2 separate regions of the Homo sapiens genome follow, and region 2 is linked to region 1. The links are contacts of gene promoters, found by promoter capture Hi-C in human tissues and cell types (Jung and others, 2019). All regions are on one chromosome and are shown on one strand. The core of a region is centred on a gene start or on the middle of the fragment in contact, and the rest is flanking DNA. Distances in the headings are between cores, read along the strand shown.

What was found. Contacts are between HindIII fragments. The study calls those that stand out against the background at their distance.
Region 2: a fragment that was not itself captured here is called in contact with the fragment with the promoter of GZF1 in region 1 in 1 of the 25 tissues and cell types used here (heart right ventricle).

Annotation. Positions count from the first base shown.
Region 1 is chr20:23,360,718-23,363,630 of GRCh38, forward strand. It overlaps GZF1 (GDNF inducible zinc finger protein 1), which reads left to right and starts at 1,465. Exons shown (of 6, transcript NM_022482.5): 1 at 1,465-1,520. RefSeq lists silencers at 751-840, 1,261-1,750 and an enhancer at 931-1,190. The HindIII fragment of the contact is 9,373 bases long and covers 1-2,913 here.
Region 2 is chr20:22,853,074-22,855,986 of GRCh38, forward strand. No RefSeq gene overlaps it. Among named protein-coding and RNA genes, the nearest start is that of LINC01747, 170 kb to the left of the region's middle. The HindIII fragment of the contact is 5,856 bases long and covers 1-2,913 here.

The sequences.
Region 1 (2,913 bases), core at 215-2,714:
AAGGGAACTTGGCAGCATTTTTCATCACACACAGTTCATCTAACCTGATATTTGGGATGATCCTCTGTGTTAGCCAATTGGCTTTATCTAGAGGAAAAAGAAACTTGTATCTTTATGATATGAGATAATTTTGTAAGTTGGAGCAAAGGGCCCACTGAAGTTAGGCTCCTACTCCCCCATTAAAACTGGGAGACAGGGGCATTAACTCCCTTGATACTTAAAGAGATGGCTCCTAGGTCCTAGAAAAAGACATATCTAGGTTATAAAGCGCACAAAAAGGCCTAACTAGTCTTCAAAAGGATTTATATATTTCAAAGAGAGGAAAAAGTACTTACACTAATTACCAATTTTCTAAAAGTAAATGTTCGAAGAAAAAGGGAGGGAAATCTCATATTTTCAACAGGAAGTAGTAAACCTTATTTTAAATTTGTATTTGTCCTGACAGTCCCCAAACATTACAAACTCAACGTGTCGGTAAGACAAGGCTGAGTTAACTGCTGGCCACAGTAAGGGACAGCATGACCTGGCAAAGCTTTACCAATGGCTGGGAGCAAAAGGCAAGGTCAGTTTATTGAGAACTGGAAGTCTGACTCAAGGAAGGTGTTTCAAAGCGGGCTTTAGTTAGTATTGAGCAAGAATTGGTGGAAACAGCAAGATTTCGAGGAGTCAGCGAATCTTAGGGAATCAATTGTGCTTTCCCCGAAGAGTGGATGGGTCTCTGGGGAAGTTCTGTAGTGAACAAAGCTTTCGCCCGAATGGGAACTCCTGGAAATAAAGCCCTGCAGTAAAGACGGCAGGGTGCGGTCCCGGCTCCTGGCGCGCCGAGCCCCCCAGCAGGGCGGGGGCACCGCGGAAGAAGCGCCCCAGAGGAGAGCGCCGCGCCGAGCCCCGCCTGGCGCCAGTTCTCCAGCGCCCGTGGAGGCATCTGCGCCCCTAGTAGCCAAGGTGAGTACCAGCTCCAAGCCCGGCTTTCCGCGAGGTCCCTCGCGTGGCCACCGTGCCCTAAGGGTGCGCTCGGCCTCGGGGACGTGAGCAGCTCTTAGTGGGAAGCCAGCTGCAGGCCCTGACCGCAGGCTGCTGGGGCCCGGAAGCGCTGGCGCCTTGCGGCCAGAAGCCCGGAATGGACGCGAAAGTGACCACGCGAATCTGACGCTCACGTGACTTTTCGCGACTGGCCCCGCCCCCCTGTGGCGTGCCGCAGCGCAGACGTCGCTGTCTCCTGCGCAGGCGCAGGCCTTGGCTCGCGGCGGGTGACGCAATGCGGCGGGTGACGCAATCCGGCGTCGCCAGTCAGTCGCGCGGCCAGATCAGGTAACTGCCCGAACCGCTCCGCCGCCCGACGTGTGGCTCAGCCCCTTCCTCAGCCCCGCCAGGGGCGGGGCCGGCCGCGGGAGGGGAGGGGCCTGCAGCGACCAATCGGCGGTGCCCGCGCAGGGTGCTACGCCACGCCCAGCCGGGCCGGCCGTTCCTACCGGCCTGGTCCAGCGGACAGCGGCTGCAGCGGGGGCGCCGGCTGGGAGGTGAGTGCGCGGCCCGTAGGCCTGGCTCCGGCCCCTCGCCGCCCGCCGCCGCCTCTTTGTCCGCGCGCCCCGGCTGCTCTGTGGACCTGCGCGTCTCGGGGATGCGGGAGCGGGGGCAGGGGGCGGCCCGAGGGCCTGATCCACGCGGCCCCGGATGCCCGCGTCGGGAGGCGGCGCGTCGGGCCGAGGAGGGGCTTCTCTGTGGCTGCAGTAGTTTGTTCTCTGGGTCGTCTTTGGAGTGGCCGAGCGGCGTCCGGGCGCTGGGGCGGCCAAGTGGCGCGGGAAGGGTGGGAGGTGCCGTGAGGGCGGCGAGGACAGCGGCGGATTTAAGCCCCACTGGAAACCCCGGCCCTTGTGGCCGTGGACTGGGCTGCGGGTAGCAGCGTCTCCTGGAAGGGCTCTGGCCCCGTGAGCCTCGGGGATTCAGGGGCCGCCGACGTTGGTGCAGATGCCGGGCGCACTGGGAGGCGGCCGGAATGCCAATGAGATTCGGCGGATACGCAGCTGTCACCGGCCGCAGACTGCCCTGTCGCCACCTCCAGTGCCTGCACTCCAGTAGCCAAGCAACATAGGAAATCGCGCTCAGAACCCACTTTGTTGATTGAGAAATCAGGTCTCCTCGAGGGCCCTGTTGGCAGAGGTCTGGGGAAGTCAGGGCATCAGGCTGAGAGAGCCCTCTGCAGTCTTGTTTCCCCAGGCTGGGGCTGGGACCACTGAAACCCCAGTGGCTCTATAAGAGCCCCACTCTTATAGATCCCTTCCTTAGGCTTTGTCAGTGTTCTCACAGTTTTACTGGGGCGTCTCCTTCAGGCGACATTGATCAAGCCTCATAGGTACCTGTTTACAGCGGAACTCCCAGAGGGCAGTCTTTTCCATGTTTGAGGGACTGCTAGTTGTGGGGAGCGGTCTCATTGATGAGACTGGAGAAGGGGAGAGGGGTGGGACTAGTTTATCAGGGAAGATGATGACAACTTTTTTTCTAGACACGTTGAATCCGAGGTGACATCTGTGGTCTGGCCGAAGGAGGCTAGAAGGAAGGCATGTGCTTTGGATGGATGGAAACAGGAATCAAAGAGGAAGGTAGATTCAGGAGCTGAAGGGCAGGGAGAAAACACATTCAGGGAGTTTGTGGCAAAGCAGCAGAAATGACGATGGGGTGACGGTATCTGGAGGCCTTAGGTGGGGTTGGTGAAATTTGCATGCCCGCTGCAGTGGAAAGATTTAGGGGCTAAAGATAGCCCTTTGCCTTTGGCAAGGCTGAGGGGAAGAGTGTGTTGAGTAGTCTGAGTTGAATCCGGGCACCAGGCCCTGGCTCATGTCCCAACCAGCCATTGACTGTTACCTTGATAGGTCCTCATCTATGAAATGGGGATCACTGTAGCACCTTGGCCTA
Region 2 (2,913 bases), core at 279-2,778, 510 kb before region 1:
CAAGACACATAATTGTCAGATTCACCAAGGTTGAAATGAAGGAAAAAATGTTAAGGGCAGCCAGAGAGAAAGGTTGGGTTACCCACAAAGGGAAGCCCATCAGACTAACAGCAGATCTCTTGGCAGAAACTCTACCAGCCAGAAGAGAGCGGGGACCAATATTCAACATTCTCAAAGAAAAGAATTTTCAACCCAGAATTTCATATCCAGCCAAACTAAGCTTCACGAGTGAAGGGGAAATAAAATCCTTTACAGACAAACAAATGCTAAGAGATTTTGTCACCACCAGGCCTGCCTTACAAGAGCTCCTGAAGGAAGCACTAAACGTGGAAAGGAACAACCGGTACCAGACACTGCAAAAACACGCCAAATTGTAAAGACCATCAAGGCTAGGAAGAAACCGCATCAACTAACGGGCAAAATAACCAGCTAACATCATGATGACAGGATCAAATTCACACATAACAATATTAACGTTAAATGTAAATGGGATAAATGCCCCAATTAAAAGACACAGACTGGCAAATTGGTTAAAGAGCCAAGACCGCTCAGTGTGCTGTATTCAGGAGACCCATCTCATGTGCAGAGACACACTTAAGCTCAAAATAAAGGGATGGAGGAAGATCTACCAAGCAAATGGAAAGCAAAAAAAAGCAGGGGTTGCAATCCTAGTCTCTGATAAAACAGACTTTAAACCAACAAAGATCAAAAGAGACAAAGAAGGCCATTACATAATGGTAAAGGGATCAATTCAACAAGAAGAGCTAACTATCCTAAATATATATGCACCCAATACACAAGCACCCAGATTCATAAAGCAAATCCTTAGAGACCTAGAAAGAGACTTAGACTCCCATACAATAATAATGGGAGACTTTAACACCCCACTGTCAATATTAGAGAGATCAATGAGACAGAAGGTTAACAAGGATATCCAGGACTTGAACTCAGCTCTGCACCAAGTGGACCTAATAGACATCTACAGAATTCTCCACCACAAACCAACAGAATACACATTCTTATCAGCACCACCTCACACTTATTCTAAAACTGACCACATGATTGGAAGTAAAGCACTCCTCAGCAAATGTAAAAGAACAGAAATCACAACAAATTGTCTTTCAGATCACAGTGCAATCAAAGTAGAACTGAGGATTAAGAAACTCACTCAAAACCACACAACTACATGGAAAATGAATAACCTGCTCCTGAATGACTACTGGGTACATACGAAATGAAGGCAGAAATAAAGATATTCTTTGAAACAAATAAGAACAAATACACAACATACCAGAATCTCTGGGACACATTTAAAGCAGTGTGTAGAGGGAAATTTGTAGCACTAAATGCCCACAAGGGAAAGCAAGAAAGATCTAAAATCAACACCCTAACATCATAATTAAATGAACTAGAGAAGCAAGAGCAAACAAATTCAAAAGCTAGCAGAAGGCAAGAAATAACTAAGATCAGAGAAGAACTGAAGGAGATAGAGACACAAAAAAACCCTTCAAAAAATCAATGAATCCAGGACTTACTTTTTTGAAAAGATCAACAAAATTGATAGACTGCTAGCAAGACTAATAAAGAAGAGAGAAGAATCAAATAGATGCAATAAAAAATGATAAAGGGATATCACCACCGATCCCACAGAAATACAAACTACCATCAGAAAATACTGTAAACACCCCTACACAAATAAACTACAAAATCTAGAAGAAATGGATAAATTCCCGGACATATACACTCTCCCAATACTAAACCAGGAAGAAGTTGAATCCCTGAATAGACCAATAACAGGCTCTGAAATTGAGGCAATAATTAATAGCCTACTAACCAAAAAAACTACAGGACCAGATGGATTCACAGCAGAATTCTACCAGAGGTAAAAAGAGGAGCTGTTACCATTCCTCCTGAAAATATTCCATCAATAGAAAAAGAGGGAATCCTCCCTAACTCATTTTATGAGGCCAGCATTGTCCTGATACGAAAGCCTGGCAGAGACACAACAGAAAAAGGGAATTTTAGACCCATATCCCTGTGAACATCGATGTGGAAATCCTCAATAAAATACTGGCAAACCAAATCCAGCAGCACATCAAAAAGCTTATCCACCACAATCAAGTTTGTTTCATCCCTGGGATGCAAGGCTGGTTCGACATATGCAAATTAATAAACGTAATCCATCACATAAACAGAACCAAAGACAAAAACCACATGATTATCTCAATAGATGCAGAAAAAGCCTTCAACAAAATTCAACAGCCTTCATGCTAAAAACTCTCAATAAACTAGATATTGATGGAACGTATCTCAAAATAATAAGAGCTATTTATGATAAACCCACAGCCAATATCATACTGAATGGGCAAAAACTGCAAGCATTCCCTTTGAAACTTGGCACAAGACAGGGATGCCCTCTCTCACCACTCCTATTCAACATAGTGTTGGAAGTTCTGGTCAGGGCAATCAGGCAAGAGAAAGAAATAAAGCGTATTCAATTAGGAAAAGAGAAAGTCAAATTGTCTCTATTTGCAGATGACATGATTGTATATTTAGAAAACCCCATCATCTCAGCCAAAAGTCTCCTTATGCTGATAAAGCAACTTCAGCAAAGTTTCAGGATACAAAATCAATGTGCAAAAATCACAAGCATTCTTATACACCAATAACAGACCAACAGAGAACCAAATGATGAGTGACCTCCCATTCACGATTGCGACAAAGTGAATAAAATATCTAGGAATCCAACTTACAAGGGATGTGAAGGACCTCTTCAAGGAGAACTACAAACCACTGCTGAACAAAATAAAAGAGGACACAAACAAATGAAAGAACATTCCATGCTCATGGATAAAAGGAATCATTATCGTGAAAATGGCCATACTGCCCAAGGTAATTTATAGATGCAATGCC